Regions from separate parts of the Homo sapiens genome. Here regions 2, 3, 4, 5 and 6 are each linked to region 1. The links are contacts of gene promoters, found by promoter capture Hi-C in blood cells and fetal thymus (Javierre and others, 2016). All regions are on one chromosome and are shown on one strand. Each heading gives the region's core, a stretch centred on a gene start or on the middle of the fragment in contact. The rest is flanking DNA. Distances are from core to core; before and after follow the strand shown.

Region 1 (3,343 bases), core at 484-2,983:
AAAGCAGAACCAAACAAGGGAAGTGGGTGGTGGGTAGGCAGGGATCCAAGATCCATTATGAGCCTGAATCCTTTAGCCTAACATCAAAGCCCCTCACTACCGGCTGCCCAGGCTTCTGCTCCAGCTTACACCTGTAATCCCAGCAATTTAAGAGGGCAAGGTGGGAGGATTGAGCAAACCCAGGTACTCGAGACCAGCCTGGGTAACATAGCAAGACCCCATACAAAAAATTTAAAAGTTAGTGAGGTGTGGTGGCACATGCCTGTGGTCTCAACTACTTGGGAGGCTGAGGCAGGAGGATCGCTTGAGCCTAGAAGGCTGCAGTGAGCCATGTTTGTGCCACTGCACTCCAGCCTGGGTGACAGAGAGAGACCATTTCAAAATATAATAATAGTACCACAAAAAAAAAAAAGTGTGTAGCTATTTACATAGCATTTACACTGTATCAGGTTTTATAAGTAATCTAGAGATTATTTAAATTATATGGAGGGCGTGGTGGCACGTGCCTGCAGTCCCAGCTACCTGGGAGGCTGAGGTGGGAGGATTATCTGAGCCCAGGGAGTTCGAAGATGCAGTGAGCTATGATTGCACCACTACACTCCAGCCTGGGAGACAAGAGTGAGACCCTGACTCAAAAAAAAAAAAAGAAAAGAAAAAAGAGTATACAGGAGGGTGATGTGGTGGCTCACACCTGTAATCCCAGCATTTTGAGAGGCCAAGGAAGGAGGATAGCTTGAGCCAGGAGTTTGAGACCAGCCTGGGCAACATGGTGAGACCCTGTCTCTACAAAAATGAAATAAAATAAAAATTAGCCGGGTATGGTTGTTTATGCCTGTGGTTCCAGCTACACAGGAGGCTGAGGCAGGAGGATCCCTTGAGCCCAGGAGGTCGAGGCTGCAGTGAGCCATGTTCCTGCCACTGCACTCCAGCCTGGGTCACAGAATGAGACCTTGTCTCAAAAAAAAAAAGTATACAGCAATCCCCTGCGGATACTGAGGGATAAATGTATCTAACACACACACTCACACACGTGGGCTACTAGAAAGGCAGTGACTGCGAATTGCTACTTCCCAGCCACTGTGAGAGATGTGGAAACCCCTGCTCCAGGACAACCACCACTTCCCCAACTTGGCAACCTCTCCTGCTCACCATCTAGCACCTGCTTCCAAATACTTCAAGGACAGCAGGAAGTTCTTTTCTGACAAGATTTGGCCTAATTTTTAAATAGCACTCAGCACTTTTTGGCAGGCCTAGGGCTACTTCCAACATCCCATGGCTTTCCTTTTTTAATTTTACCAACTTTTTAAATACACTTTGTACTTTGGGCAGCCCGGGTAAGCGTTCAGTGTGAGGAGCTGACACGGCCATCATTTAAACTAGATTAAACGACACTGGACAAATAATCGCAGAGCAGCACAAAGTCGGGCTGGACGGGTACAGATGCAAACCCTCCACTCAGGGCTCGGGGGTCCCTCCTGCTCCAGGCGGCCCCACCCGTACAGCCGGGAAAGTGAGGTCGCACAGATGGACGGCCGCCTACCCACGCACAGTCGCAAACAGAGCTTCATGGGCACACAGGGGAAAATAAGGACACACACAGACAGCCGTGGACCCACGCTCGCGGACACAGCTCCCCGAACCTCCCCTCCCGCGCCGCCGCGAGAACCCAGCTTCCCAGCCCCCTTCCACTGCTCACCCGCGCCAGGCGCGTCTCGGGGCCGCTCCCAAATATCGCGGTATCTCTGCCGCTCTCCCGCGGAATCTGACTGGCACGCCTCACGAGAGCACCGGGCTGGCTGTATGTCGCGCAGCCTTCTGGGAGCTGTAGTCCACTTCTCTGCCTTCCGGGAGTTGTAGTCCACTGGGGAAATCCTGGAGCAAACCCTGGCCCTGTTCTTTGTATTGCTGGGACTCTCGATAGGGGCTGGCATAACTGTCCGACCTCCTTTCCTCACTCCTATCAGCCCCACACACACTGCTTGTTGCTTGGGGCCTTTTTTTTTTTTTTTTTTTTTTTGCTGTTGTCCCAGGTTTATTGAAAATATTACAGTATCTCAAAAAGATTCAAACAGCTTCCACGTGGCGTTTTGAAATTCATCCCCACTGTTGGCTGAGTGACCTGCAGGTTGGACAGACTGCCAAAGTCCAAAAACATCAGCATTTCCTTAATGTCAGGATATGTTAATACTTCAATGATTTCCTGATCCAGGGCTGAGACCTCAGGAACATGATTATCTCTCCTTTCTCTCTTCTCCTCCTGCAACTTGATGCAGATACCTCTCACTGAGCGCTTCAAATCAGCTTCATCACATGCATGTTGTAGCCTGCTATCTTGTTGGGGAGCTGTTTTTTTTTTTGTTTTTTTTTTTTTTTTTGAGACAGGGTCTGGCTCTGTCACCCAGACTGGAGTGCGCAGTGGTGCTATCTCCACTCACTGCAACCTCCACCTTTTGGGCTTAAGCCATCCTCCTATCTCAGCCTATGGAGTAGCCAGGACTACAGGAGTGCACCATCATGCCAGACTAATGTTTGTATTTTTTGTAGAGACGGGTTCTCACTCTATTGCCCAGGCTGGTCTCAAACTCCTAGGCTCAAACAATCCGCCCACCTTGGCCTCCCAAAGTGCTGGGACTACAGGAGTGAGCCACCACGCTCGGCCCTGGGGAGCATTTTGCTGGAAATAATGGTGATCTCCTTGCACATGTGTTGTTTGTGTGGAAGTTGCTGCCCGGGTGTGTGTATTACTTTTTTATGACGAAGTATAGAAAAGGGCTATCTTCATGGTATTAGTGTGAATGGGGCCCATGTTGGCAGGTCCTTAGTAAAAGAGGGCTCGTGGCACTTAATATTTACCAAGCCTCTTCTATTTTAGGTGCACAGGATACAGAGATAAATCAGATGCGTCCCTGTTCTTGAGACAAACAGGGACACAGAAAATGACAGGGTAAGATCCTCCATGAGGAAGCAACACCTCTAGGCAGGAAAGCCTTCTTGAAGGAGTGACTTGAAATGAATCTTGAAGGACAGCCAGGAGGTTAGATAGAGGATCCCAATAGCGATCCAGGTGGAAGGCATCAAATGGGCAAAGGGAAGGCGGCAGAAGAACACACACTGGCATGCTTCCCTGCCCCCTTCATTTTCTAGCCTTCACAGGCCCCAGGAACCTCTGTATTCATTGAGGTGGCTGAACCAGCTGCGGGTCCCCTGCCCTGAGCTGAGGTGGGGCCTCTGCTCTACCCCCGCCCTTAGCCGCAGTGGACCATCTGGGCCAAACCATCCCTTACGCAGGGATCCAGCCGTGTCTTTTTTTTTTGAGATGGAGTCTTGCTGTGTCGCCCAGGCT
Region 2 (3,576 bases), core at 110-2,609, 300 kb before region 1:
AAAAGGTAGCTGATACAAACCCCAGGACACCCACCCACCCAAAGAGCCAAAGAATAGTTCCTGTGACATTCCGTCTTCCTCCATGTAGTCCCTCTTGGTAATCTACCAATCTACCATCGAGCTTAGGGACTTCACCCCAACAAAATTGTAAGTGTTGTTAGGTTTTTGTGTGAGACTCTTGCTGTAGCGTAGATAGCTGTGATTGGTGAGTCAACCATCTGTGGCTACCAGTTACACTGGGACTGTAACAGCATTTTTACTTTCTGTACAACAAAAATCTTTGTAAATAAAATCTTAACATTAAAATAACAATAATAATAATAATGTTGATTGTATGCAGGTCTGGCAAACCTTTGACACACTGAATGACTGGCATCTCTAATCCATCCAATTCACAATTGCCCCTGGCCAGGCCCTGTCCTAGGCTAGGTCACCTGCTGGAAGATAAGACTGTGGATTCTCTCCTGCTTGGCTTTGGGGTAGAGATGCCAGATAAGATATAGAACACCCAGTTGAATTTAGATTTCTGATAAAAAATAAACTATTTTTTAGTAAGTATGTACCATGCATATTTAGGACATACTTATACTAAAACTTATTTCTCTAAATTTTTTTTTCACCATCTTCACAGGTGTTGATATTTCTCTAAATTCTTTAATGTATGTATGTAGTTACTTTAAAGCTCTTGCCTGCTAATTCCAATGTGTGAGCCATTTATGGGTCTGCTTTCTCTCTTTTTTTTTGTGTGTGTGTGTGATAGAATTTTGCTCTTGTAGCCCAGGCTGGAGTGCAATGGCACCATCTCGGCTCACTCCAACCTCCACCTCATCTGGCTGGTCTTGAATTCCTGGTGATCTGCCTGCCTCAGCCTCCCAAAGTGCTGGGAGTACAAGTGTGAGCCACCATGCCTGGCCCTTTTTTTGTTGTTGTTTCTTTGAGATAAGTTCTCACTCTGTTGTCCAGGCTGGAGTGCAGCGGCATGATCTCAACTCACTGCAACCTCCACCTCCCAGGCTCAAGCCATCCTTCCACCTCAGCCTTCCAAGTAGCTGGGACCACAGGCACGTGCCACCAGCAGTCCTGGCTGGTTTCGTGGAAGACAATTTTTCCACAGACGGGGTTGGGGGTGGTGGTTATGGTATGAAACTGTTCCACTTCAGATCATCAGGCATTAGATTCTCATAAAGAGTGTGAAACTTAGATCCCTCGCATGTGCAGTTCACATTAGGGTTCACGCTTCTATGAGAATCTAATGCCTGCTGATCTGACGGCGGGTGGAGCTCAGGCAGTAATGCTCGCTGTCCACCACTCACCTCCTGCTGCGCAGCCTGGTTCCTACCAGGTTACCTACGGGTACAGTCCACAGCCTGGGGGTTATGGGCCCCTGCACACCACCATACCCAACTCGTTTCTGAATTTTTAGTAGAGATGGGGTTATGCCATGTTGCCCAGGCTGGTCTCGAAGTCTTGAGCTCAAGTGATCTACTTGCCTTGGCCTCCCAAAGTGCTGGGATTACAGGCGTGAGCCACCATGCACAGTGGGTCTGTTCATATTGACTGGGTTTCTCTTAATTTTAGGATATATTTTCTCACTTTTTTCACACATCTAGTATTTCTTGAGCTGTTGGACGTTGTGAACCTTCATTGTAGAGATGTGGGTTATGTTATCCTACTCTAGTGTTGAGTTTTATTTTGGCAGGGAATTAAATTACTCGTGGGTTAACTTGATCATGTGTGTCAAGGGTACATTTTAGGCTTTGTTAGGGTGACCTGTTTTTCAGTTTTGCCCTTATTCCCAGGGAATCTTCCTTAATCCCAAGGCATGGCCTTCTAGGCCCTCTGTGAATGTCTGGAATATTCATCAAGATCTGAGATTCCAAGAGTGGAGACTCTGGCTGAGCCAGAATTCAGATGTATCTCCAGCAGTCTGTGACTGAAATCGCTGTTTAGCTTTCAGCTCCCCATCGGCTGTTCTGTGCTGGGCCTTGCAGAGCCTCAATCTGCACACTCATTGTTTGGGATTTGGCCAAGGACCTGCAGCAACCTCTGTAAGATTTCTGGGGCTTCTCCTCTGCAACTCCGTCCTTTCTGATACTCTGCCACACACATTTTAGCAGCCCTGAGCACCAGTCTCTGTTTCCTTCACCAAACAAGACTGATCCTCTTGGCTTGGACTCTGCTTCCTCGTGCTGTCATTGAGGGTTTAGAAACTTTCCCCACCAGAAAAATGTAGCAGTCACTTCATGTGATTCCCTTCTCTCAGATTGTACATGGAACTGCCTATTGCCCAATGCCTGAAGACAATTTCTTCATGTACTTTGTCCAGCTTTGTAGTTGTTTATGCTGGGAGACCATCATCAATACAGGTACTCTATCATGGTCACAATTCGAAGTATGATTAATATCATATTCATTCTATTCTAAAAGTAGAGAAGACAAAGACCAAAAATTCTAAGAAAAATGGAAAAAAAAATATGAAAGTTCAAAGAAAAAGAAACCCAAATGCCGCTGACACACAGGAAAAAATGTTTAACTTCACTGATAATAAGAAAGATACAATTTTAGGCCGGGTGCAGTGGCTCACACCTGTAATCCCAGCACCTTGGGAGGCTGGGGTGGGAGGATCGCTTGAGGCCACAAAGTGAAGGTGGCAGTGAGGCAAGAGGGCACCACTTGGGGCGACAGAGTGAGAGCCTGTCTCAAAAAAAAAAAAAAAAGATACAGACGTAAACAACATCCTGCAACCTCTACATGTGGCCACGATTGCTAACAGGGACCAGATTTGCCTCCCACCTTGAACAACTAGAAAAATGGAACAACATATATAAAACGATAGTTTTCAGACATCAGAGAACAGGTCGAGCAGAACTATGATCCCTAAAAGAAGGTGAACCCTACAGTGTCCTCGGTTTACTGCCGGAAGCACTTACAGGCTCCAACACAGGGAGGGGAATCCAAAGTCCAGTGGTCTTGGTGGATTGAGGAGACAGAGATCAGAGCTTGGGAAGGTCTTCAAGGCCGGTAGAATTTGTGAGGTAGAGTACCAGGGAGGAGGTGGGAGAAGAGAGCGCGTGAGCTCTGGAGAGCTATGGAAGATGCCCTCAAGCCTTTGGCAAAGGGCTGATATGGATGTATGTGAGAAGAAAGTACCCAGGGAAAGAACTGCCAGAAAGCAGACAGAAGAATCCCCAGAGCTCACAACAGGCTAGAGAGAATTCATATTCTCACTAGTGCGGATGAAAACACCTCATAATACTTAGGAAATGGAAGAGAAGCTTTAGAAAAGTATTGCCTTAATAGTGGGGCTAAATGAGCACTGGAGTAAAGGCTTCTCTGAAACTGTCCTCACAAAGTTTGAAAGTAAACCTTGATAGATCCAACTTATTTCAAGTAACTTAACTAGTGCTGGAACAGAGTCCCACACTATTTAAAGGAAAACAAAATCCAGCAGTCACAACACAAAAACAATGTCTACCAGTCAATAAAACATTGCCAGGCAATGGCCAGGCACAGTGGCTCATGCCTGTAATCCCAGCACTTTGGGAGGCCGAGGTGGGCAGATTGCATGAGGCCAGG
Region 3 (3,538 bases), core at 539-3,038, 370 kb before region 1:
GAAGTTGGGGGAAATGGGAGATGCTCAGTGAGACTATCAGTACCTGTCTCTGAGGGTTATTAAGATGGAAGAGCCAAAGGCTCACATTCTTCTATGGTAAGTGCTTGTTGTGGTACTTTCCATGCTTTATGCATTGGTCAAATGTATATATTAGTACATGCTTTATGGCAAATGTGACTTATCTAGGCCACTTTAGCCCTTTTAACTGAAATTGTCCATTGATGACTAAATAATAGTTCTTTTGATTTTGCATGGCATTTTAAGATTATTATGTTTTGCATGGTGAAGAAAATCAGTATCCTAAGGTTTATAGTACTTTCTTGAAGCTGTTTTTAAATTATTTAAGATCTGTGTGTATTGTTACCCTTAGCAAGTATCTTGCCATGGTTAGCAAACCAGCTCTGAGAACTGGCATTTTTCTTTCATGTTTCTGGTATTGATTGCTTTGTTGTTTTTTGTTTGTTTGTTTGTTTGTTTTGTTTTGTTTTTTTGAGACGGAGTCTCGCTCTGTCTCCCAGGCTGGAGTGCAGTGGCGCAATCTCGGCTCACTGCAAGCTCTGCCTCCCAGGTTCATGCCATTCTCCTGCCTCAGCCTCCCGAGTAGCTGGGACTACAGGCGCCCGCCAACACGTCCGGCTAATTTTTTGTATTTTTATTAGAGACGGAGTTTCACCGTGTTAGCCAGGATGGTCTCGATCTCCTGACCTCGTGATCCACCCGTCTCGGCCTCCCAAAGTGCTAGGATTACAGGTGTGAGCCACTGCGCCCAGCTGATTGCTTTGTTTTGTTTTGTTTTTTTGAGACAGGGTCTCATTCTATTGCCCAGGCTGCAGTGCAGTGGCACAATCACAGTTCATTGCAGCCTCAACCTTCCAGACTCAAGTGTGATCCTCCCACCTCAGACCCCCACCCCTACCCGCCACCGAGTGGCTGGGACTACAGGCATGTGCTACCATGCCTGGGTAAATTTTTTTTTTTTTTTTTTAAACTTTAAATTCTGGGATACATGTGCAGAACGTGCAGGTTTGTTACATAGATATACATGTGCTTTGGTGGTTTGCTGCACCTATCAACTCATCATCTAGGTTTTAAGCCCCACATGCATTAGGTATTTGTCCTAATGCTCTCCCTCCCCTTGCCTCCTACCCCCTGTGGCTAATTTTTTGTTTTTTATAGAAACAGTGTTTTACTACATTACCCAGGCTGGTCTCAAACTCTTGGGTCCAAGCGATCATCCCACCCTGGCCTCCCAAAGTGCTGGGATTACACACATGAGCCACCATACCTGGCCTGATTGGCTCCTTTTGAAAGAAGGCTAAATTAGGGACCCCTTTCTTTTTAAAGACAGAGTATTGCTCTGTCAACCAGGCTGGAGTGCAGTGGTGTGATCTCGGCTCACTGCAACCTCTGCCTCACGAGTTTAAGCCATTATCCTGCCTCAGCCTCCCAAGTATCTGGGACTACAGGTGTATGCCGCTACACCCGGCTAATTTTTTTTGTATTTTTAGTGGAGATGGGTTTCACCATGTTGACCAGGCTGGTCTTGAACTCCTGACCTCAAGTGACCCACCCGTCTTGGCCTTCCAAAGTGCTGGGATTACAAGTGTGAGCCACTGCGCCTGTCCCAGGAGCTTTATTTTGAAGTAATTAGGAAGGGAAGAGTGGAGTGAATAAATGAGGTGGTAGAAGGCCCCATACCACCTATATCAGGAGAGGGACTACTGAAAGTGGGCTCAATCCTCAGTGTGTTTATATGTCTGGTTTACATTATCATTTTTAAAAAGGGAAGTCTGGTTTGTCTAAAGATGTAAAATGATACGTATCCTATTTAGTGTATCTGTTACATTAAATTGACTGGCTGTGCTTACTTGTGTGGATAGGTATCTTGCTGGTTTTTGTTTGTTTGTTTGTTTGTTTTGGTACTCTTTTAGCTCTTTGCCAGTTTTCCCGCCTCACACTTGGTTCAGCAGTTTCTGGTGTGTTTTTAATTGAGAACCACATGCTGCCTGGCCACTGGCAGGTGGTTGGCCATCTTTGCCCCAGCATTTATAAGGAGTTGCACCTATTTGCAGAAAGCTAAATCAAGACAGATGTTAACTTCCATAGGGAGTGTTATCAAGCTAAAGAAGGCATTTCTTTGTTACTTACGTTTAGTAAGGTTAACTGATGAGTTTAGCAGAGCTTGGCATTTGTTTTTGACAGAGTGTTCCTATCCTCTCTCAGCTGGTATGCCTCCAAATGAGAGGCAACTTCATTTCCCATTTGTGACTACAAGGGCAAACATGAAAGAAGTGGGGTGTGCATGTGTTTAAGATTTGGTGGGATGAGCTAGTTTGAAGGAATGTGCGTTACCAATCAAGATAGGTTAGTAATGCCTCAGTACAGACAACTCCCACATCTGAGTGACTTGTAAAACCAATGGGTTTAATTTCTAATCATTCTACATGTACATTGATGTTTAGCAGGGGATTTGGCATATCAGAATTACTTGGGGATTCAGGCCAAGGGATTGCTGCCATTATGAATGTTGCTAGTCACTAGGAGGAAAAGAGAGCTTGGAATGATCTCACACCTTTAAATGCTGCAGCCTAGAAGTAATAAACATTACTTCTACTCATCTCATAACAACTCATTGGTCAAAACTAGTTACATGGCCCTATCCAATCATAAGGGAGCCAGGAAGTTTAGTCCATTTTTTGTTCATAATTGGAGAGCAAGAGGGGCCAGAAATATTGACCAAATGACTACCACATTCCCAAAACAAGAAAACTTAGGGAACACTTCTGCAAACAGTTGGTTGTAGACCGTTGAGACTGCTCATTTACTTCATTTTCTGTTTCTCATTTAGAGAACCTTATTTTAAGCTAGGGAAAAAGTAGACTCAAAGGTTGCCAGGAGTCCAATAAGAATTTAAATGGTTACCCGCAGCTACAACAGTGAACTCCTTAAGTTATGATAGTCACTGCTCTTATTATTACTGGATGTGGAACAAGGCTATTGAATATTTAAGTATTTGAATATATTTAAATATTTCAAGTTAAACCAAAAAACTCTCAAGACAAAGCGGTCTTTTGGGATTGTTTTGATTGTTATTGTTTGTTCATAATGGATCTTAGCAATTCAGGAAAGTTCAGGGAAACGTTTCAGTAAAGTCATCTCCTGTTTGGTTCCTCTGGTCTAAAATCAGTAGTCCTAAGCAAAGCACACGGTGGTGGTGGCGGCAGCAGCGACGGTGGTGGTAATAACTACCATTTATCCAACTTCATCCTGTGGTTCTTATGTGCCAGGTATTGTGCTAAATACTTTATGTGGATTGTATCATTTAATCCAGACACAGGGTTGTGAGAGTAATAGGTGCTGTTATCCCTATTTTGCTGATAAAGAAACAGTCTTATGTAGCTAGTAGGGCAGAACCAGGATTCAAATCCAAGGAGTTTGACTCCCTACCTTATTCTTCTAAACACTACTCTATTCTATTTTGATTTGGGTCCTGAGCATACCCTTCTTTGTCTTCCTCTTCAGCTTGATGTAGTTTTAG
Region 4 (3,259 bases), core at 475-2,974, 420 kb before region 1:
CAGTGCTGTATACTGGGGAACACAGAAGAGTCTATAAGGATTCAAGTAAGAACCTGGTTTTGCTGTATTAGGAACATTTTCATAAATGCTTCATAATCTCCAGATAATTATTTTATATACTATAATTTTGTTCAGAGATAAATAGCTTAGAAAGATTGGCACTTCGTAATTAAGAGGGTTTTAATAATTTACATACAGAGAAAGACTTTTTTTCTTTTTTAAGGAAGGAGGTGTGTAGTAATTTGACAAGATTCCTGGTGAAGTATAATTCTTTTTACATCTTCAGTGGGAGCAGACAAGACACTGGAGAGCTGTGCATGGCAGATGTTAGTACCTGGGAATTTTAACTGGAATTAAGAGGTTATATCCCTGGCATTCAGTAGTTTAGCATAGTGCTTTTCATGGCTTTCTCTCTTTTCTGGGCAATCCACCAGCCAAGAGTTTGTTAAGCTTTACTTTCTGTAGGCCTTTAAAAAAATAAATAGTATATGCTTTTTCAAAATACACCTTCCTCGCCCCTTGAAAAATAAAAGCTGATATTTATTGAGCACTTACTGTGTCACAGATACTGTGTTAGGCACTAGACTTTTTTTTTTTTTTGAGATGGAGTCCTGCTCTGTCTCCCAGGCTGGAGTGCAGTGGTGCAATCTCAGCTCACTGCAACTTCCGCCTCCCGGGTTCTAGCGATTGTCCTGCCTCAGCCTCCACGAAGAAGAAGCTGGGGCGCCACCACACGCCTGGCTAAGTTTTGTACTTTTGGTAGAGGCAGGGTTTCACCATGTTGATCAGGTTGGTCGCAGACTCCTGACCTCGTGATCCGCCCGCCTCAGCCTCCCAAAGTACTGGGATTACAGGCATGATCCACTGCACCCGGCCGCATAATGTCTTTTTTTCTCATGTCTTTTTTTTTTTTTTTTTAGACGAAGTCTCGCTCTGTCACCAGGCTGGAGTGCAGTGGCATGATCACAGCTCACTGCAGTGTTGATCTTCTGGACTTAAGCGACCCTCCTACCTTAGCCTCCCATGTAGCTGGGACTACAGGTGTGTGCCACCACGCACCTGGCTAATTTTTTTTATATTTTTATAGAGGTGAAGTCCTGCTGTGTTGCCCAGGCTGGTCTCGAACTCCTGGGCTCAAGAGGTCCTTCTGCCTCAGCCTCTCAAAAGTGCTAGGATTAAGACGTGAGTCACCGTGCCCGGTCATGGGTGGCAATTTCTACCTGATGTATTTCTTATTTGCCCCTTTTGCTTTTGTTTTCCCTACCCACTTTTTGTCTTGTATGCTTGTATGTTACCCATATTTCTCAGCATGACAGTGGACCCTTCATGAGTCTTCTTGGTGTCCTCCAGGGCTAGGCTTGCTGACATATGGGCTATTGGAGGATATGCAGGTCCACATCCTTTATTTGCAGTTCTGAAATGCAAGAGTTTTTGTTTTTTGGTAAGTCTAGTTCCACAACTAGTTTTGGGGTACAGCCTGACCTGGGCTATCCTGCATGATGCAGAAATGTGACTGCTTGATTATGGGGAGCTACTCAGCCCTAGCTGGGAGAGAGAGATGATACAGTATATGTACCATATTACCTTTCTAAAATCCAAACAATGCTGATGACTCTAACGGGGATCTCTCCCTCTACCATAGACTAATATGTTTAGTGGCCCACTCAAGGTCTCCACTCGATGTCTCCTCTTGGATAACTAAGAGACATTGTTGACTCTTCTGTGTCTTTTTCATATGTGGTCCATCAGTAAATTTTACTGCTTTATATTCAAAATACTATCCAGAATTAGACCACTTAGGATCTGCATCTCCACTGCCCTAGTCAGTGCCTGTGCATCTCTAGCTTGGATTCTATTCTCCTTGTTTTGTTACTGCGGCTCTTAAATGTGTTCTCAACATAGCAACCCAAGTGATTCTTTTGAAACCTAAGTCATACCGTGTCACTTCTCTGCTTAAAACCATCCAGTGGCTTTCCATTTCAGTCTGAGTATTAAACCTGAGTCCTTATTTAGATATGTCTGTAATGAGCTGGGCGCGGTGGCCCATGCCTGTAATACCAGCACTTTGGGAGGCTGAGGCAGGCGGATCACGAGGTCAGGAGATTGAGACCATCCTGGCTAACATGGTCTCCACTAAAAAAAATACAAAAGAGTTAGCCGGGCATGGTGGCACACGCACCTGTAGTCCCAGCTACTCGGGAGGTTGAGGCAGGAGAATGGTGTGAACCCGGGAGGTGGAGCTTGCAGTGAGCCAAGATCGTGCCACTGCACTCTAGCCTGGGCGACAGAGCGAGACTGTCTCAAAAGAAAAAAAAAAGGATATGTCTGTAATTTCACCATTTTGGGAGCTCAAGTGGGAGGATCGTTTGAGTCCAGGAGTTTGAGACCAGCTTGGGCATCATAACAAGACCCTGTCTCTATAAAAAAATTAAAAATTAGCCAAGCATGCTGGCGCGTGCCTGTAGTCCCAGTTACTTGAGAGGCTGAGGCAGGAGGATTGCTTGAGCTCAGGAGCTTGAGGCTGCAGTGAGCCATGACTGTGCCACTGCACCCCAGCCTTGACGACAAAATGAGACCCTGTGTCAAAAAATAAAAAAACACCTGTAAGAACAAATCTGATGTACCCTCTGCCTGCCACCCTTATCCTAGTACCTCTCTGACTACATTTCTGACTAGTCCTTCTTTCGTTTTTCTTCAGCTACCCAGCCTTCATGCTGTTTTGGAACATGTCAAGCACATGTGAGCCCTCACAAAGACATGAGGGTCTTTGCGGTTGCTGTCCCCTCTGCCTAGAAGGCTTCCTCCACTAATTTCTGCATGACTAGCTCCCTCACTTCCTTTACTCAGAAGTTACCTTATCAGTAGGTATTATCTGACCATTCTTATCTACAATTTCAAAAACTCTTCCTTGCCTTTTGTTCTTGATACCTGTCACTGCCTACTATTCTAAATATTATACTTTGTCTATTGTGTCATCTTTCACTAAAATATAAGCTTCTTGAGGGAAGAGATTTTTGTTTACCGTTGTATCTCCAGCTCCTAAAACACCTGGTGCATAGTATGTGCTCAGTAGATATTAGAGAATGTATACATGAATGAATGATTTGGTTTCCACCACAGACAAGACAAAGCAGTATGCTGAGCATGGTAGAGGATACATAGATGGTTAAAGATGTTATGTGCCCATGTTTGTGTGGGAGCAGAAGAGCTAATGTGATAAAAGCAGTGTGAGATGTGAGTGACACTTCCACCTGTCCTT
Region 5 (3,094 bases), core at 25-2,524, 350 kb before region 1:
TAGTCATTCAAATAAATTTTTGTTATGTGGTTCAGATGAGGAACCTCAGTTGAAAGAAACTGTTAAGGAATGGTAAATTGGGGTACATTTTTCTGCAGCAGTTAAAGAGAATAAGACAAATCTATCATGAAATGAAAAAATATTCATGACAGTAAGTGAAAAGTTGAGGACAAAATATATAGTATGATCCTATTTTGTCTTAAAAACAAATCCCAAAGCAGAACTGTAGCTGGTAATTACATGTGTAAATTTACAGACAGAGGCCTAGAAGTTTCTCATTAAAACTCTTAACTGGCTACATCTGCTAAGTCAAGTAGGGGATGGGTGAAGATTTCTGCTTTTTATTCTGTGTACCTTTGCAGTTGAAATTTTTTTTGCAGTGAAACAACTGAACATTTGTGTATGTATTTAACAAATTGGGATGAGTACTATGCAAGCATATAATAAAGAAAACTCACTTTGGGGAAGTCACGGGAATCTGCATCTGGACGAGCTCTCATCCTCCGGGGCTTTTCTGCAATAGGAATCTACGGCGGATCCGGAAGTGTCAACGTGGTCGAGAGCAGCAGGAAAAGGAAGGGAAGGAAGGAAACAGCAAGAAGACCATGGAGAATGTGGATAGTCTGGATAAGCTGGAGTGTAGATTCAAGCTGAATTCCTACAAGATGGTGTATGTGATCAAATCAGAGGACTATATGTATCGGAGGACCGCCCTGCTCCGGGCTCATCAGGTGAGAACCAGTAACTGAAATTTCTGTACACATCTCCCACCCTAGCTAGGACCAGGGGAGGCCCAGAGTCTTCTGATTGTTTTTCTTTGTTTATGCAAACCTGTTCTTGGAGCTGAGACTTAACTGAGGAAGTACGTATGTTGGTTGCTAAGGATGCTGTGACAAAGTACCACAGACTGTGGCTTAAATGACAAAAGTTGTGGAGACTAGAAGTCCAAAGTCAAGTGTCAGCAGTGTTGGTTCCTTTTGAGGACTGTGAGGGACAATCTCTTCTAGGCCTCTCCTAGCTTCTGGTTCTTTGCTGGCAATCTTTGGCATTCCTGGGCTTGTAGATCCCTGCCTTCATCTTCATATGGTGTTCCTACCTGTGTGTGTGTGTCTGCCTCCAGATGAGGTCACATTCGGAAGTACTGGGGGCTAGGACTTCAATGTATGATTTTTTGTTTGTTTGTTTGAGACAGAGTCTCACCTGACACAGCCTCTCAAAGTGCTAGCATTACAGGCGTGAGCCACCATGCCCGGCCAACATAAGAATTTTAAGGAGAATACAGTTCAGCCTGTAAGAGCACGTAAATACCCGGTGGCACCTTTTTGGTGAATTTACTCCCAGTATTTACATCTCAAGTAGTATCTGATCTTTTGCTTGTATGAATCCTACCTGTCTTTACATTCTGTCTCAATTGTGAAACCTTCCTGGTGCAGCTGCGTATAGGGTGTTATGCCAGGCCCTGGGACTACAGCCATGAAGTAGAGCAGATGAAGTAATGCGATGATATGCACTACCAGGGAAACAAATCAGGTGAAGTGATCAAGGGTAACTAGCATACAGGCCTTGCTTTCACTGGAGGAGGCTTCTCAAAGGAGGTGATGCTTGAGGCCTGAATAATGACAAGGAATTAGCCTGGTGAAGAGTAGAGGATGGGTGTTTTCTAGACAAAAGAGCTAGTACAAGGCTGGGAGGAAAGGACTTGGCATATTCAAGAAATTACAAACACCATTGTGGCTCAAGGTTGCATGAAGTTAGAAGGGTAGGCAGAGGCCACATCACTTTGTCTAATGATAGGCCATGGTTTGTAATTTGTTTGAGATGCACTGGGACATTTGACAAAGATAGCTTGGAGTTCTGTGAGGACAGTGGAGATGGGTATATATAAAGTTGGAAGAGCAGAGACCACTCAAAAGGGTGCCCTTGTCCAAATGAGATGTGGGGGCCACCCGTACTACTAGGGTGGCAGTGGAATTGCAAGAATTACATTGTAGACTTTATGCATTTATTTTTGAGACAGAGTTTCGCTGTGTCTCAAACCATGCCTGGCTGATTTTTTGTATTTTTAGTAGAGATGGGATTTCACCATGTTGGCCAGGCTGGTCTCGAACCTGACCTCAAGTGATCCACCCTCCTCAGCCTCCCAAAGTACTGGGATTACAGGCGTGAGCCACCACGCCCAGATGTAGATATTATTTAGATATTTAATTGACAAGAGATGGTGTTGGATCAAATGTGGGGGTAAGCAAAAGAAGGACATCAAGGATGGTGCCTGATTAGTTTTGGGGTTTTTTGGTTTGTTTTGTTTTGCTTAAGTGGAGATTTTAGGGGCTCACCTGTTAATAGGAAAGGGTTATGAGGTTTGGGAGACAGATGAAGTGCTGTTTTAAGTTTGAAAGGACTACAAAACTTTCAAATGGGAGATGTTGAGCAGACAGTTTAATGTATAATTAACCCTTTAACGACAAGGGGTTTGGGGCACTGGCCCCTGCACAGTCAAATCTGTGTATAATTTTTGACTCCCCCAAAATGGAACTACTGATAGTCTACTACTGACTGGAAGGCTTACTGATAAACAACATATTTTGTATGTTGTATGTATTATATATACTGCATTCTTTTTTTCTTTCTTTTTTTTTTTTTTAATGAAAATAGACACGGGGTCTCCTTACGTTGCCCAGGGCTGGTCTCAAACTCAAGGGTTCAAACAACCCACCCATTTCAGCCTCCTAAAGTGCTGGGATTACAGGCGTGAGCCACTGTGCCCAGCCTATACTGTATATTCTTACAATAAAGTAAGTTAGAGAAAAGAAAATGTTAAGTCATAAGCAAGAGAAGATACATTTACTCTTCATTAAGTGGTTGTGGCTCATCATAAAGGGTCCTTATTCTCATCTTGTTGAGTAGGCTGAAGAGGGAGGAGGAAGGGAGGGGTTGTTTTTGCTGTCTCAGGGTTGGCAGAGGTGGAAGAAAACTTGCCTATCAGTGGCCCTGCGCTGTTCAAAGCTGTGTTGTTCAAGAGTCTGCTCTACTTCTCTCATGGCACTGAGGGAAGCGCAGTGGCATGATTTCAGCTCACTGCATCCTCCACTTCCCG
Region 6 (3,158 bases), core at 26-2,525, 390 kb after region 1:
GCCCACTAGCCCTGTGGACCTGGTCATCAACTGCCTGGATTGCCCTGAGAACGTCTTCCTGCGCGATCAACCCTGGTACAAGGCAGCTGTGGCCTGGGCCAACCAGAACCGGGCACCAGTACTCAGCATAGACCCTCCTGTGCATGAAGTCGAACAGGGCATTGATGCCAAATGGTCACTGGCACTGGGCCTGCCTCTGCCACTGGGGGAGCACGCAGGCCGTATCTATTTGTGCGACATTGGCATTCCCCAGCAGGTCTTCCAGGAGGTGGGCATCAACTACCACTCGCCCTTTGGCTGCAAGTTTGTTATCCCACTGCACTCTGCTTAGAGGGTTCCTGCGCAGGCAGGACTCTGCTGTCCCCTGCTGCTCCTGATAACAAACGCCTTAAGGATATGAAGCTTCATGGACCTTGTTAAAGTTTTTTCTCTTTTGGGTTTGTTTCTTCTGTGAGAGAACAGAACTTACTTAAAACTGACCTGTCACTTGCTCTTAGCCAGGGAAGTCTTTCCCACTGGGTTCCGGGCTGGGTGGCAGGCTGAGCGTGCAGCAACTCCAGGCATCTCTACCCTCAGCCCCCTGCACGGCCAGGTGGGCCTTTGTTTACAGCCGTAGGCAGCTCTCAAGACTGTGTTTCAGGTTTACAGCCACTGGGCCTGGGCACACACATTGAAGAGTGGGCCAGGTCCTGTCTGGGGGCCTGTACCTGCTCTATTTCAGAGCTTGTGGCTTTGTGTCTCCCCTGCTTTCCCCACGCAGACAGCCCTTCCTCTGTAGAACCAGCTGCACGGCAGCTGTCCACCAGAGGGCAGACCTGCACTCTCCATTCATGTCCAGGGCTGTGACAGACCAGGCCTTCCCCTAGCCCCACAAGTTGATTTGGGGGGTTTTGACCCTTACTCCTGAGCTGATCCAAGTTTTATGCTGATTTTTCCAAGGATCTCTCCCTCCTTTTCCCTCCATCACTCAGAGGTAGGGAAGGGGGCGGCATTAGGATGGTGTTACTGTATTGGGATTTTATGTTGTTCTGTCGTCTTCAGCACAGGTAGTATAAGGTTATATTACTGTAGAACCACAGTGCCCATCTTGCCAGCAGTGCCCGCCCCCACCCTCAAAGCTGAGCAGGTTGAGCCTTTGCCTAGTCTGGGGCCAGACCCCTCAGATGGGGATATCCCTGGGGGAGCCTGGTGCTGAACCAGAAGAGGCTTCCTGGTGCTTCTGTCCTAGGCCACCACTCCTCCAGCCCTTTGCCCGCACATACATGCCCCACCTACTCTTTCATCCCCTCTGCCCTTCCCCTGAAACGGTCCTTTGCAGCTGTCATCCCAGAGCAGGCAGATGGGCTCCCGTGCTTGAGCTCCACCCCAGCTCTTACATCATCTGGGCTTTGAACCTTTTACATTTGTCCAGTCTAGATGAGTAGGCTTGGGGCCAGCACCCTGTCTCAAAGATGGCAAAATGAGGCTAGTTCTGGATGAGCTAGCTGGTGTGGGTTCCAACCATAGGAACACACTGATGCTCAAATCCTAAGGTGCCAAGCTCTAGGCCCTGGAGGCTGGTAGAACAGGATCTATGCCTGGAATCCTGGCAGGGATTCCTGTCAAGGACTTGTGTTTAAGCCTGCTTCAGGGCTTCAGGCTGCTTCTGCTCTGTGTCTGCCCAGGCTGGCTGAGCGGGTGGATGGGTGGACAGAAGGGCTCACCAAGGATTGTGGACATAGGGTAGGCCCTGGTACCACGGGTTTCAGGCTGTTATCACTTCCCTTGTAGGAACATAGCCAGAAGCAGATGAGCCAGGGTAGAGGGCTGGCCCCTCCTCTCATCTTCCCTTCAGTCTTAAATTGTCTCCAGCGATGGGAAGAGGCCAGGGACTGTAACCCTTGTGCTGTGTATTCTCTGAGCCTCTGCTCACTCTCAGGGCCAAGCAGCTCCCAAGCCGGGGCCCTCTCTTGGCCAAAATCTGAGGAGCAGTCTAGGTTACAGGCTTTTTGGTAGGTAGGTTCTGGCTGCCTGTTAATGCAGTTAGGCCCCCTGATTAGGTACAGTGAGAAACAAGCTAGAACAACCCTGGCCCAGAAGACTGTCCACTCCAGCAAGATCCAGGGATGATAGCCTTGCAGGGCCACTGGGAGTTTGTGCCCAAGCTTCTCCCTCTTCTCTCCCCAGGGGGCACTGGGACTGGTCCCTGCCCTCATCCTTAGCCTGGGCCTTCCCCAGAGGTATTAAAGAGAAGTATGATTCCTCTGTCTTCAGTTCTTTTCAGGGGCATCCTGCCCATAGTACCCAGTTCCCAAGGGGCCCCCAGTCACGTGGTGAAGCCTAGCACTCATGCAGCTCTTAGGGAACCAAAAACCAGCACTGAAATAAAGCTGAATGACTGACTGAGTCCTGTGCCGTGTGACTTGCTCTGTAGGCTGTCATGAGGTGCTGTCTGTCCCAGCCTAGGAACCCGCCCCACTCGTCTCCTGCCCTCAGCAGGCCATAGTTGTTGGGCACATACAGCCTAAAGTCCTGGCCAGTAATGGGACTGGCAGGCTGTGGAAAACCAGACCCCACCTGGCTAGCCACGGTGGGCTGATTCCCTTAGGTTCTCTGGGGCTGAGAGGTACAGAAGCCAGCAGGGCAGAGGTGCCATCTAGGACTGCTCAGCAGCCTGGGCCCAGAGGATGTCCCCAATTCTGGTCTTACCCCTGCCTAGCTCTTCTGTGCCTGGCCCAGTTCACACTTAGCTCTCCACAAGCTGAACTGCTAAGAAAGACTTTATTAATAAGGTCAGGTAAGGGGAAGGCAAGGAGCCTGGAGATGGACACACTGGTACCAGGGGTTACAAACAGTAAGAAACACTTTATTATAACTTTATAACATATAAATAGCTTGGGTCAAATCTGTGCTTTCTGGCAGCTGGGCACCAAGTCTGCTCCCCTGCAGGCTCCTGCCTTCCTTCACATTGCACTGTTCATTGGGTGGCTCTGGCCTGGGGCCTGGCGGTCGAGGCTGGAGTCAAGGGGCTGGGCGGCCCAGTCCCGCCCTCCATCTCCTCATGCGGTGGCCTGTGCCTGTCATCTGCTTGGGTTGCGGCTGGTGTGGAAGGACCGCTCCTCAGGGGTCAGGCCAGCAAAGAAGGGGTGCAGCAGGGCCTCGGCCAGTGTGATGCGCTG

What was found. Contacts are between HindIII fragments. The CHiCAGO score rates a contact against its expected background, and 5 or more counts as called.
Region 2: a contact is called between a fragment that was not itself captured here and the fragment with the promoter of PPCDC in region 1, in 1 of 17 cell types (neutrophils). The highest score is 7.1, in neutrophils.
Region 3: a contact is called between a fragment that was not itself captured here and the fragment with the promoter of PPCDC in region 1, in 1 of 17 cell types (neutrophils). The highest score is 6.0, in neutrophils.
Region 4: a fragment that was not itself captured here is called in contact with the fragment with the promoter of PPCDC in region 1 in 1 of 17 cell types (neutrophils); the score reaches 9.4 in neutrophils.
Region 5: a contact is called between a fragment that was not itself captured here and the fragment with the promoter of PPCDC in region 1, in 1 of 17 cell types (neutrophils). The highest score is 8.2, in neutrophils.
Region 6: a fragment that was not itself captured here is called in contact with the fragment with the promoter of PPCDC in region 1 in 1 of 17 cell types (naive B cells); the score reaches 5.1 in naive B cells.

Annotation. Positions count from the first base shown.
Region 1 is chr15:75,021,980-75,025,322 of GRCh38, reverse strand. PPCDC (phosphopantothenoylcysteine decarboxylase) reads right to left here and starts at 1,733. Exons shown (of 6, transcript NM_021823.5): 1 at 1,697-1,733. The HindIII fragment of the contact is 7,713 bases long and covers 1-3,343 here.
Region 2 is chr15:75,318,114-75,321,689 of GRCh38, reverse strand. It overlaps the pseudogene ANP32BP1. Among named protein-coding and RNA genes, the nearest start is that of COMMD4, 16 kb to the left of the region's middle. The HindIII fragment of the contact is 3,837 bases long and covers 1-3,277 here.
Region 3 is chr15:75,396,481-75,400,018 of GRCh38, reverse strand. It overlaps SIN3A (SIN3 transcription regulator family member A), which reads left to right. Exons shown (of 21, transcript NM_001145358.2): 13 at 3,523-3,538. Among named protein-coding and RNA genes, the nearest start is that of MAN2C1, 30 kb to the right of the region's middle. The HindIII fragment of the contact is 3,599 bases long and covers 1-3,538 here.
Region 4 is chr15:75,445,835-75,449,093 of GRCh38, reverse strand. The region is part of intron 1 of SIN3A (SIN3 transcription regulator family member A); the gene reads left to right. Among named protein-coding and RNA genes, the nearest start is that of SIN3A, 4.2 kb to the left of the region's middle. The HindIII fragment of the contact is 2,544 bases long and covers 453-2,996 here.
Region 5 is chr15:75,373,302-75,376,395 of GRCh38, reverse strand. It overlaps SIN3A (SIN3 transcription regulator family member A), which reads left to right. Exons shown (of 21, transcript NM_001145358.2): 20 at 524-731. Among named protein-coding and RNA genes, the nearest start is that of MAN2C1, 6.2 kb to the right of the region's middle. The HindIII fragment of the contact is 8,348 bases long and covers 1-3,094 here.
Region 6 is chr15:74,629,785-74,632,942 of GRCh38, reverse strand. EDC3 (enhancer of mRNA decapping 3) reads left to right here. Exons shown (of 7, transcript NM_025083.5): 7 at 1-2,385. The coding sequence ends at 331. It overlaps CLK3 (CDC like kinase 3), which reads right to left. Exons shown (of 13, transcript NM_001130028.2): 13 at 2,742-3,158. The coding sequence ends at 3,060. Among named protein-coding and RNA genes, the nearest start is that of CLK3, 16 kb to the right of the region's middle. RefSeq lists enhancers at 643-792, 853-912, 3,118-3,158. The HindIII fragment of the contact is 1,742 bases long and covers 405-2,146 here.